4 separate regions of the Homo sapiens genome follow, and regions 1, 2 and 4 are each linked to region 3. Evidence: promoter capture Hi-C in 16 types of primary human blood cells and fetal thymus (Javierre and others, 2016). All regions are on one chromosome and are shown on one strand. Each heading gives the region's core, a stretch centred on a gene start or on the middle of the fragment in contact. The rest is flanking DNA. Distances are from core to core; before and after follow the strand shown. Region 1 overlaps VWA8 (von Willebrand factor A domain containing 8). Region 2 overlaps VWA8 (von Willebrand factor A domain containing 8). Region 3 holds the start of DGKH (diacylglycerol kinase eta). Region 4 overlaps VWA8 (von Willebrand factor A domain containing 8).

Region 1 (3,267 bases), core at 208-2,707, 350 kb before region 3:
TAAATCCAAAACATAACTACATAACTGGAAAACAGGTTAAATTGACTCCATGATCAGAAATTTGTTAAAAATACGATATTCAAATAGTTTTTAATTTTCTCTTATTGTTAGTCCAGTCCTGGCAAATCTTCATGCAAGTATAATGTCATAAAAAGAATTTATTGATATTTAATTATACACATATCTATGGTTATATATATCATGTTAAAATCTATACGTGCATAACAGGAAATTCTCTTGTGCATTACAACAAAAAAGGCACTTAAAGGGATGGGCATGCATGCATCTTTCTGGTTAGAAAGCTATAGAAATCCTTGGCAATTTGTGGGACAAATGTGGTGTTTCTTACAGCTTCTTCTTTGTTCCACCAGAAAGGTTTCTTAGATGTAAACTTCTCGGAAGGGAGGATGAGACGATGAAGGGCCCGGCCAGTAGTATCTAACAACAGGATAACATTACTCTGCAAATGATAAAAACAGTGAAAAGCTCAAGATTTGTTCTTTTTTTTTTTTTTTTTAAAGCAGCAACCTCTTGGCAACCTGACAGTGAAGGTTATAGTGATAAATCAAAACAAAGACAATATTGTAATACTTAAGAAATATCACAAAGACATTAAGTGATTTTTCTTAAGAATCACAAAGAATTAAGTGCTTCTTAATTTAAGAATTTAAAATTTTTGGTGGTTTTATGAAGACGTTTCTAAATATGTGATGCAGAAGGTATTCTCTTTAAATATTTTTATGTAAAAACCATTCCCTTTTAAATATAAGCTAGTTGAACCATGATTCTGTTTTATTATCTAGTTATAAGGAAATTACAAGGATTGATGATTTTAAGAAATTCATCTACCTGTAACAAAATTATACTTAGAGAATGCTCAGTTGAAAGCTCTCTTATATTGTGCATAATTAAATCTCATTTATCTTTTTCACAAATCCAGGTTCAATTTAGAAAATAGGTATAAAATAGATATAAAGAGGACTAAGCAAGAAATATGAAGGACTCCAAGAAACTAGCTAGTAATGAATGTTCCTTCATTTAGAAATTCACCAAGCTTGAAGAACCTTCATAACTGGTGCTGTAATAAAGTACAAACAACAGATTTCTGCAGCATTATTAATCACAGCTATGCAATGATGTAATCTTTCAGTAATTAGGATACGTTTTTTTAAGAAAATAAATAAACCTTATGTGTTGAAATAAATGAACTGAAATACATGAAATAAAAACTTAACATTGAGAAAGCCAGAAAAAATTAAATATTTTAAAGGGATGCAAAGAAGTTGGCTTTTTAGTTAAAATATAAAGAATTTTGAAGATTAGACTAACAGGTTTGCAGAAAGGTACCTGCAAGTTATTTGTCAGACCTCATTGTTATGCGGGTGTCTTTTCTTTCTTTGTTTTATTTTATTTTAAATGTGGGGCTCCTCCAGTTATCCTAACTCTTGTGAACTTTTCATTTCAAGAAGAATTTCTTTTGGAGAAAATAAAGTCACAAAGCACATGAAGAATTAATAAAAACCTTGAAAAATATAGAAAACAATAAAATGTGAAGTGTTTGTTCATTTTTTCCATAATATTTATTGAGGAGCTTATATTTAATATATAAAGAATACAACAATGAATTAATCATGACCCTTGCCTTCTGTCATATAATTTAGTTAGAGAAATAAAAAGAAATGTAAAAAAATGAATGATTCATCTGCAAATCTAGCATCTCAGTGTGGGTTTAATTTTATTTTACAAGCTAATTTTGTGGAAGTGTTCAAGAATTAAAATAGTATTTGCACCATATAACTCACTTCACACCATATACTCTGAATTTTATTTGTATTAAAAAATTTTACTAAGCATGTTAACCAAGCTTAAATTTCTTTCATAAACATCACCCTTAGAATGTATCATTCTGTATAAGATATAATTCTCCATTAAGAATGTGTGTTAGAAATATTCTTTTAAAAATTAACATATAAGAAGTGTCATTCACCACTACTTGACAGTTTTGAAAATGGTAATGATATCTTAGAGTTTTCCTTAAGAAAAAAATAAAATTAAGTTAAAAATTTATAATCTCTATTCTAGATTAAATATTTTTTGAATGAGTACTTTTTGATGGAAAAAATATTTCTTGTATAATAAATATGTACAACGTTAAAATGAATTCTTAGCACTTAAGCAATTTGGGATAATATTAGCCTTTGTAAGCAAAGGAAGTCCTAAAAATGTTTCATGCCCAAAAATGAGTAAGCATAAGAATAAGCAGTTGATTAAACAAATATGATCAAGCAGAAAAAGAAGTTAGTATCGTCTTCCATTTTCCTACCTTTTTAGGGTCTAATACTTACATATTCATAACATGGCATAAGTGAACTGAAAAACTGTATCTTTCTAAGTGACAGAAAACATGTATTTCCAGCCACTGCTGTATTTAGAATTAGTTTATAAGCAATTGGCAACATGAAGGAGTTCTGTTGCTCCATCCTTTTAGATGTTAATGGTTTCCTTCTGTAAATGACTAATGATAGATTCTGTCTGGGTTTAAAAATAGAATTTTGCGTCACACATGAGTACATGTAACTGTGGCTTTGGCACTCCTTTAAGGGGGGCAGGGAGGAGACGCGAGTGAGCAATTTTATTATGTTTGTATTTAACTGGGAGAAAAGTAACCTCTGGATGACCTCAATGTCCCTAAATCTGAAATTCTAAACTTTGTACAGATGTAATAAATAATCTCATGGGGAGTGGGGGAAGGGGAGGGTCTTTATTTTTAGGCATGGCAAAGTTTCCCTTTCCTTACTTAAGATTTTATTTTAGCAAGGAATTTTTGAACAACTTCTTAAACTAACCAGGGACATGCATCTGAGCAAAGCTTTATGTTAAAAAGGCAAGGAATAGCCGAATTCATGGAAGTACTTCTCTATAATATTTTGCTTCATTTTCAGTTAGGGTAGAATGAAGAAGAAGGAATTGATGGCAGTCTACTTATTTTTCATTCCACTAGAATTATTTATCAGTTGTTAAATTTCACAGCTGTGTGCTGTTCACATGGAATTTTACAGGTCTGACATCTTGACAGAGGTATATTGTAAAATAAGATACTCTCTCCGGGAAAAGAGAAGGCAGTTTAGAGGACAGGTAGAGAGGAAGTATACAGATAAGGTGTGCAGGTCTGCTCAGGGTTCCGAAGCAGTTTCCTGGAAAACTTGAAACTGTGGCCAAAGGGGTAAGTAAGGCAGTATATGAGGAGGCAAGATGCTGGCTATGGAA
Region 2 (2,854 bases), core at 16-2,515, 400 kb before region 3:
GCAACATACTCATTATCACATAGTTATTAATTGGAGGAGCCAGGATTGAAATCTCAGTCCATCTCCTTCTAAAACCCAGGTTTATCAGATTTTTTTTTTACTACATTACACTGGCTATAAACAATGAATGTATTCTTGATAGTACAAAATTCAATGTTTTATAAAGCATATCATGGTTTAGGAAAGCAAGAAATATGCCTGAAAGGCAAGCATTTTTCCTTTTTAATATATATCAGATTTATAGAAAGCACTGTATACATCAGTAAATAAGACATTAGATTAAAGGGCTAGCATATCTTTCAGAAGGTTAGTAAAATACTGTATTTATGTATGGTCTGAACTGCATCATACCAGACAATCCTGAACATGATCTGCAGACTCAATGCTTGCCCTAGTGGCTCACGTCTGAAAATGTCACTTACTGGCCACAGGACATTGGGTGTACTATGTAATCTGTTTGAAAATCTGTTTCTTCATCTATAAAATGGGACTATCATCATTCTATCACATAGGAAGCTACAAAGAGAAAATGGAGAGATACATGTAGAATACTTAACAGTGATGGGCAGGCTTCAGTACCTTACCTTTTCCTCACATATTACACACACAGCTTTACTAACAGTAGCAGTAAAGTACATCTCTGTTTATCATTTACACAGAAAAAAAGAGCTCCAATGGAAATGCCCCAGAACATGAAGATCACTGACTTTGATGGCCTGCCTGTGGTAAAACTTAGGATATAAATGAGGATCAGAAGCTTTTGGGAGACATTTTCTGGATGTGTCAGGTTTAGCGTGACTAAAGAAGGGTTTGAATATAATCCCTAAACTACAAGTAATCTTCCACTTATGCATATTAGGTAAGGATAAATGAACAGTTACATTAACACACAGAGCATATCTACAAACAAATAAGATTTTCTTAAATACATTAGAATGTGTTCATTTAAAAGACTTATTTGAAAAAAATAAAAAGAATTTTAAAAGGTTGTTATTTGACATTGTCACTCTGAATGCATATATATTTATTTCATTCATTTGACAAATGCTTACTGAGTGTCCAGTAAGTTCAGGGCACTGTGCTAGCATTGGGCATATGCTGATACACAAAACAGCAATGGTTTTTTCCCTTCAAAATCAGCTTTGAAACCATGAGTAGAATCAGTCACATTATTTACTGATAAATATACATCGCTAAAAGAATTCAAGTCTGGGCCAGGTGCAGTGGCTCATGCCTGTAATCCTAGCACTTTGGGAGGCCGAGGTGGGTGGATCACTTGAGGTCAGGAGTTTGAGACCAGATTGGCCAATATGGTGAAACCCTTTCTCTACTAAAAATACAAAAATTAGCTGGTATCATGACGCATGCCTGTAATCCCAGCTACTCAGGAGGCTGAAGCAGGAGAATCGCCTAAACCCGGGAGGCAGAGGTTGCAGTGAGCCAAGATCGCACCACTGCACTCTAGCCTGGGCGAAGGAGCGAGACTTTGTCTCAGGAAAAAAAAAAAGAATTCAAGTCTGACTGACTAAAGCCTAAGCTCATCATAAAACCCACCACCTAGGAGAAAATATTAAATGATGCATGTCTTGGAGAATCAACGTAGTTAGCAGAGGAGAGCTTTCCTAACACAATAGAAAAATGCCTTTGGACGGTGTCGGTAGTCCCCTCAGTAAAGTGTCTCACACTTCCTGAATCTGATCACTGGTAATAATGATGATAAAAAAAGATTTCCTTTTTTTAGCATTGGAAAAAACCCTACCCAAATAATTTTTGGAAGCTTGAGATTACATTATTTATCTGGTTCAGGTTTTAAAAATATTTCTGATTTTTTTCTGCCAAAATCCAAGCCCTCTTTCCTCATACAGAACAACTTAGATTTCTGAAATAGTTCTTCCCTTGACATTACTTGGGAGGTGGGCATTATTTCCCCAGAAAAGTAAACAAGGGAATAAAAACAAGGTGACTCAAAGGATGAGGAAGTATGTTTTTGTAGAGAACAAAAGATCCTTTCACAGTATGTCAAAGACTTAACTGTGAACTTTCCCGAATGTAAACACTGTTCAAATGGCAAAAGGAATTTCATCTATGTCTATAAAAGGTCCTGAACAATAGCTCTTGCTTGAAGCTACTTTTGACGGGGCCGTAAAATAATCTTTTCTTCAAATACTTTACATACAGACCTACAAAAACTTTTTCATCTTCTCAGGAGACATACAATTATAATTACCTTCATAATAGCAACAATAACACATAGAAGCACGGTACTGCTAAAGGCAATTAATGTCATAAATTATAAGCAGCATCATTTATGCTTAGAGTCTTCAGGAATAAAGAAATGCTTTAAGAGATAGTTTAAAATATTAGGCTAATGGTTTCCATTTAGCCTAAGAATTTAAAACTTATAGGGGCTGAGTACGGTGGCTCATGCCTGTAATCCCAGCATTTTGGGAGGCCAAGGCGGGTGGATCACATGAGGCCAGGAGTTCGATACCAGCTTGGCCAACATGGTGAAACCTCGTCTCTACTAAAAATCCAAAAAGTAGCTGGGCGTGGTGGGGGGGTGCCTGTAATCCCAGCTACTTGGGAGGCTGAGGCACGAGAATCACTTGAACCCGGGAGGCGGAGTTGCAGTGAGCTGAGATTGCGCCACTGCAGTCCAGCCTGGGTGATGGGGGACACTCTGTCTCAACAACAATAACAACAACAAAAACATAGGGCAGTAGATTTCTTTAAACAGATTTCATTATGATTACAAAAAAGGAATATTAATATTTTAAACCAAAAGGAATTATGAGATATCAGTTAGCTAAAATAAATATTTAACTTTTCCTACTTTAAAGTTTTACTCTTTACA
Region 3 (3,125 bases), core at 318-2,817:
AATTCATTTTGCCCAACTCCTTCCTTTCCTAAAGGAGACAACAGAAGCTGCAGAAATAGCCTCTCTGTTATTATTACATAGCAGCAGTCTCCTGTCTTTAAATATTTGAACTAAACACATTTTACATTTTAATGAATTTAATTTACAGTGTGATGTCCAGTATTGGGATTGCATACTATTTCTTAAAACTTCTTAGAACTGTTAGCTCTAATATATCAAATTTCTTGTTGGGAGTAAGACTGCAAGTTAAAAAAAAAAATTAGAACCTTAGTTTGGAGGAACCTTAAAGGTCATGTCAACTGAAAAAATACGAAAGGAATGGTACTGAAAGGCATGAACATAACAGAGATTGAATGCTTTCTCCAGGTGGAGAGACTCCACAGTCTGGCAGGGACTTTTTGTCCTATTTAAAAATATAGCTAACACCAGTTTGGTGTTCTCTTTGGATGACAAGAGGGATCTGTCGTTTTAATGTCTTCTCTCGCAGCCCCCTCACCGCAGCCCCCTCACACCTGTGAGGCTTCTTTGACGTTGAGCGTGCACAACCCGCTGCCAGTCCGCGGTTCCCAAGTGCCCGCGCAGCCAGCTTGCAGGGGAGTTGTGCGCGGTGGCTACAGCCTGTTGATCCCACTTCCTCCTGCTCTAGTCCGGGCTAGGGAGTGGCTCTGCCAGGACTTCCAAGGCTTTTTGTCTCGGGTACTGGTGTTCGCATGGCTCGAGTGTATTGTTTTCTTCCAGGCAATCTCGGTTAGCGCTTCAGCTTAGACACTTCTTGTGCGTTCTGTCGTCTTGGGCTGCGTGTAGTCTCTTGTTTCTGCGCTTTCTCCACGCCCTTCCCAGTTTCCTGTTAGCCGAAGGGGATCGCTCTTTCTGAACGAAAAGTTCTCAGAGCGGAGCTGAACCTCCCGGAAAATGCTCTTCTCTTCCGTGTGCGCCGGATGGGGGTGGGGGTGGGCCAGAAACTGAACGCCGCCGTCAGGAGAGCTGAGGGGACCCGACGGCCCTGGCGGAGGCGGGAGAGGTACGGTCCTCGGAGTGGGGCTGGGGGTGGGGAAACCGACGAGGGGCAGCCCCCGACTGTCTTGGTGGCAGAGGGGACTTTTATTCAGCTGGAACCGCGCGGCGAGGCCCAAGTGTCTCTGGAGAGATTCGGGGTTCAGGAGGTGGCGGGTGCACCCAAGGGTGCTGGGAGGAAGCTCCAGGTTCCCATTCTTCCCCAGGGATCGGCGTTGCCCCTGCTGTCCAGAAGTGAGAGGGGGTGTGCGGGCATCGCCACTACGGGGTGGGCTGCAGAGGTTTCCTGCCTCCCCCACCCTCCTGTCCATCCTAGGGACCCAGACCGTAAGGGAGTGGAAGAGATGTTGCTCCAAACCCTGTCACCCCATCCTCTCTACCCGCGCTGGTCCTATCCGAGGCTGGGTGCGCAGGGGTCCGAGGCGGGCGGGGGTCCGTTACCTCTGCGTCCCACCGTGGCCGCCGCTCCGGCGGGAACCGAGCGGAGGAGCCGGGTGGACCCCTGCCTGGAGGGCGCCTGCCCCGGGCGACCCTTACCTCGCGGGGGTAGCTAGGGAAACGGAAGATGGCGGCGGCGGCCGGGCACGGGGTTCCGGGCTCCGCTCGGGCAGAGCCCACCCGCTGACCAACGCCGCCGCCCCCGCCGGGCGGTGCTGTGTCCCCGCAGGAGTCGGAGAGGATGGCAGGGGCCGGAGGCCAGCACCACCCTCCGGGCGCCGCTGGAGGAGCGGCCGCCGGAGCCGGCGCCGCGGTCACCTCCGCCGCTGCCTCGGCGGGGCCGGGAGAGGATTCGTCTGACAGCGAAGCGGAGCAAGAGGGACCCCAGAAACTGATCCGCAAAGTGTCTACCTCGGGGCAGATCCGGACCAAGGTAGGGCGGAGGAGGCGGGCCTGAGGGCCGCGTGGAAAGCGGGAGGTGGAGAGGGCGCGGGGGCGCTGGAACGCGCCGGGCGATCCCGGGAAGGCGGGGAAGGCGGGGAAGGCGGGGAAGGCGGGGAAGGCGGGGAAGGCGGGGAAGGCGGGGAAGGCGGGGAAGGCGGGGATGGTGAGACGGTGAGGCGGGGCGGGGCCTGGGGCGCGGGCGGGGCGGGGAGGGGTGGGGCGGGGCCCGGGGGCGCTGGACCGCGGTGCTGCGGGACGGATTCCCGGCGGCTGCGCGGGAGGCTGCGAGCCTGGGCTCCCAGGGAGTTCGACTGGCAGAGGCGGGTGCAGGGAACCCGCGGCTCGGCGGGAGCGTGGGAAAAAGCTGACGCGCAGTCGCGAGTTCCTACTTAGGGAACTTAAAAGGAGAGTTTCAATTTTTCTTCCCTGCCGTTCGGGGGAGCGTGCGCATGTGCTGGCCAACCAGCCTGCGCTGCAGTGAGCCCTGCTGCTTTCCCACTTAGGCCCACTCAGAGGGTGGGTGGAAGGTGACACCGGTCAGCCTTTCCTGCCCCTCTGCCTCCTGCTGCGGTCTGGAAGGCAGAAGCCCCGAGGCAGGCAAGTGGGACATGGTGTTCGCGGCTTAACCGCACCCTGCATGGCTCCAAGGGCTGGCCAGGCTTTCGTGTCGCAGGTTCCCGCCAAGTGCAGGCAGGGTTCAGAACCATGCGTCCATGGTTCTTTTTAATAATGAGAAGTTACCTCTGTGCTGTGTGGACATTAGGATGGTGTGTTACTCTTGTTAATGAAGCTTGTGCTGTCGACCTGTGAGGTCTCAAAGTTAATTTTTAATTTGATCATGAACATACCAAAGCAAATGCTTATGGATATTAAAGGATTTTTATGTATTCTAATTTTCATTGTAATTTAAAAATCTTCACAGAGAGAGTCTGTTATCAGTAGGGAAATTTAACGAGGATATTGAAAACGGAACCACAAAATCATTGGCTTGGGGTACCGTTTTTAAAAATAAATTTGCAAAAAATTCATTCTACAGTTATTTTTATGAAAAATTTTCCCTAAGGTCAATGAACTCCTATTTGGAAACATAATTTTTATTCAGTGCCTGTGGAGGCCGGTAACGGTGGCTCATGCCTGTAATCCCAGCACTTTGGGAGGCCAAGGCAGGCAGATCACTTGAGGCCAGGAGTTCCAGACCAGCCTGGCCAACATGGTGAAACCCCATGTCT
Region 4 (3,299 bases), core at 312-2,811, 290 kb before region 3:
CATAGAAGATTGAAATAATTACAAGTAAGAACAGTATTACAGCTCCTGTAGGATTATGTTTCTTATTTCTTCCTATATCTCCTATAATACACAGCCTCGTAGTTTTAATATGACAAATACTTAAAAATTTTTTGAGTTGAAAGTCCTAGGTTTATATAATACATCGTTCATACAAAGAACCATGAGAAGATATAAAAATAGTGTGGTAAAAATTTGGATGAAGCTGGAGTAAAAGAACCAGTATTAGTCTTCTTTTCAAAAAATAATTACAACCTTTATTTTAGATTTAGGGGGTACATGTGCAGGTTTGTTACATGGCTATATTGTGTGATCCTGAGATTTAGGGTATGACTGATCCTGCCATCTACACAGTAAACATAGTAACCAATTGTTAGTTTTCAATCCTTGCTCCCCTCCTTCTCTCTGCCCTTTAGCAGTCCCCACTATCTATTGTTGCCATCTTTATGTCCATGGATACTCAATGTTTAGCTCCCACTTATAAGAGAGAACATGTAAGATCCTATGTTCTTAAAGCACTAGAAAAGGCTAGAAATTTTCTGAAATATGTGGTTGACCTATATAAAATTTAGGAAATGAAATGATGGGTGATAGAAGAAAGAAACATGGAAAGTTGGGAGTGGGAATGTGGGGGACAAGTAATATGACAATGAGAAGAGGGCTTTCTACGGAACAAATTCTTAACATTTAATGCCTAACATATTGAGAAGAATTATATTTAGCTTCGCCAATTCATGGATCTAGCTTTGTAATTACAATTCTCTAATATTGGCAGAAATGACGGTAGCAGAAAATCAGGATTAAAAATGTATTGTAAACAACAAAGAATACCTTCTATTTCCAGATAATGTAGAATGAACACTATATAGCAGAGATACTGAGGATACTGAGGGGGATGTTGAGGTAGATGAAGATAAGGGGAAGAATTTACTACGACGGAAGCTCATCATCTCACAAGTATGAAACAGATAACCTTCAGTTCCATTTCAAACAGCCATCAGCAAGTTAGAAGTATTTGAAGAAATAATGGTGTCTATTGACCTTGTTACACACTATTAACAATAGCAAATTTAAAATTTGCATATATTCTGTTAAATTAATTTATTCCTAAATATATTCTTTATACTACTGTAAATAGTATTTTTAAATTTTTTCCCATTGCTATAGATACTAGCATATATATATATATATATATATACGCTAGTATATATATATATATATATATATATATATATACGCTAGTATATATATTCCATATATATGGAATATATGGAATATATATATGCCAGTATATATATTCCATATATATGGAATATATGGAATATATATATATGGAATACAATTGATTTTTGTACATTTTCCTTGTATCTTATGACCTTGTTTAACTTATTAGTTCTAATGCTTTTTTTATATGTTTCTTAAGGTTTTTTATATACACATTCATGCAATTGTGTCATCTATAACATGCATGCCATTTATTAAGTTTTCTTGCTTTATTGTGCTAGCTGGCACCTCCAGCATAATATGAGTAGTTAATATTCTTGTCTTTTCTCCTAATCATGAGAAAAATGTTTAGTCTTTCATTTTTAAATATGAAGTTTAGCTATAGGCTTTTTATAGATGCCTCTTGATTGAGGAAGTTTCCTGATATTTGTAATTTATGTGATATTTTATCAGGAATGGATATTGAATTTTCTCAAATGATTTTTCTGGTGGCAATTAGAGGATCATATGGTTTTTTATTTATTCTGTAAATGTGTTATATAATTTGATTTTTAAATGTTAAGCTAGCCTTGCATTCCTGAGATAAAACCTCCTTGGTTATGACATATTATTCTTTTTATATATTGTTGAATTTGATTTGTTAACATTTGTTAAAAATTTTTGCATCTATGTTCATAGGAAATTCTGAATTGTAATTTTATTTTTTTGCATTACACAGGTCTGCTGATAAAAAAACTCAGTTTTTGTCTGAAAATGTCATTATTTTGCCTTCTGAAGAATATTTTTGCCAAATATACTAATCTATACTGATATTTTTTTTCTTTCAGCACTTCAATTGAATTGTGGTTCATATTTATTTCTCAGGAGAAGTCAGCAGTCACTTTTATCATTGTTCCCCTATAGGTAATACGTCTTTTTTCCTCTGGTAATTTTAAAGATTTTTCTCTTGGTTTTTAGCAATTTGATTATATGCTATGTAGTGTTTTTTTTGTTTATTCTGCTTGAAGTTCATTGAGCTTCCTGAATTGGTGATGTTATCTTTTTTATCAAATTTGAGAATTTTCCTACCATTATCTCTTCAAAATATTTTTCTGTCCCATTTTTTTCTCCTCTCTTTTGAGACTACAATTGTGTGTATGTGAAGCTGCTTTTTTAGGGTTGTCATTTTTACACTAAGAATTTCCAATTATTCCGTCATTATGTTCATTTTTCTCCCTTTAAATGTTTGAATCTATTTATGGCAACTGTTTTATAGTCCTTGTCTGCTAATTCCATTATCCTGTCATTTTTAGTCTATTTCTATTGACCAATTTTCCTGCTTTTTTTGTATGTCTAGTCATTTCCTATTGAATGCTTGACTCAATGAATGCTATGTTGCTGAGTGTTTGGATTTTGCGGTCTTCTTGGTTGAGTGTTAAGTTTTGTTCAGGTATGAAGTCAATTTACTGTTGAATCACCTGATTTTTTCAAGGTATTCCTCCCTCCCTCCCCAAATACCCATTATTTTTATTTTTAAAGCCATTTTGTATGAGACAAAACTTCCAAAATAATATTAAATAGCAAGCATCCTTCTTTATCAGGGCTTAGTTTTAAAATTTGTAAAGATAGGTATGGAGTAACTCTTACTTTAGGGATAGATTAGTCCTACTTCTAAACATAGACTTTATAAGATAAATACCCTTCTGAATACCAGGGTTATTTAATGAAGGAACTCTGGTAGTTGTTCAGCTCAAAGATCCCTAGTAGTTTTTCTTTTCCTAGTGTTTGTGAATTTTGTTCAGTTTTATAGTTTTTATTGTGGTAGGGCTAATCTGGTACCACTACCCTGTCATGGGCAGAGGTATAAATCCCAAAAGGCAGTTTTTCACCATATCTCAGCTTTCCCTGAGTCCTTTCCTCTTTCTCCTTTGACCCACTAACTCTGCCCTTTATTCTCTTATAATTCTCTCTCAAGAACTGATCACTTAGTGAAAAGACCCAGACCAGAAACTAACTCTTATAACTCAATTCAATGCTCTATTATACTATATATTTTTTACTTCCTAGGATTAAAACAA

What was found. The method cuts DNA at HindIII sites, captures the fragments that hold promoters and counts their contacts. A CHiCAGO score of 5 or more calls a contact.
Region 1: a fragment that was not itself captured here is called in contact with the fragment with the promoter of DGKH in region 3 in 5 of 17 cell types (M1 macrophages, megakaryocytes, monocytes and 2 more); the score reaches 10.7 in M1 macrophages.
Region 2: a contact is called between a fragment that was not itself captured here and the fragment with the promoter of DGKH in region 3, in 3 of 17 cell types (monocytes, M0 macrophages and M1 macrophages). The highest score is 6.9, in monocytes.
Region 4: a fragment that was not itself captured here is called in contact with the fragment with the promoter of DGKH in region 3 in 2 of 17 cell types (M1 macrophages and M2 macrophages); the score reaches 5.6 in M1 macrophages.

Annotation. Positions count from the first base shown.
Region 1 is chr13:41,692,513-41,695,779 of GRCh38, forward strand. VWA8 (von Willebrand factor A domain containing 8) reads right to left here. Exons shown (of 45, transcript NM_015058.2): 30 at 350-460. Among named protein-coding and RNA genes, the nearest start is that of MIR5006, 130 kb to the left of the region's middle. The HindIII fragment of the contact is 810 bases long and covers 1,053-1,862 here.
Region 2 is chr13:41,646,496-41,649,349 of GRCh38, forward strand. The region is part of intron 37 of VWA8 (von Willebrand factor A domain containing 8); the gene reads right to left. Among named protein-coding and RNA genes, the nearest start is that of MIR5006, 80 kb to the left of the region's middle. RefSeq lists an enhancer at 1,979-2,123 and a cis regulatory region at 2,045-2,056. The HindIII fragment of the contact is 1,020 bases long and covers 756-1,775 here.
Region 3 is chr13:42,047,081-42,050,205 of GRCh38, forward strand. DGKH (diacylglycerol kinase eta) reads left to right here and starts at 1,568. Exons shown (of 30, transcript NM_178009.5): 1 at 1,568-1,885. The coding sequence starts at 1,694. RefSeq lists an enhancer at 715-804 and a silencer at 1,345-1,874. The HindIII fragment of the contact is 8,345 bases long and covers 1-2,684 here.
Region 4 is chr13:41,757,177-41,760,475 of GRCh38, forward strand. The region is part of intron 21 of VWA8 (von Willebrand factor A domain containing 8); the gene reads right to left. Among named protein-coding and RNA genes, the nearest start is that of MIR5006, 190 kb to the left of the region's middle. The HindIII fragment of the contact is 5,036 bases long and covers 1-3,299 here.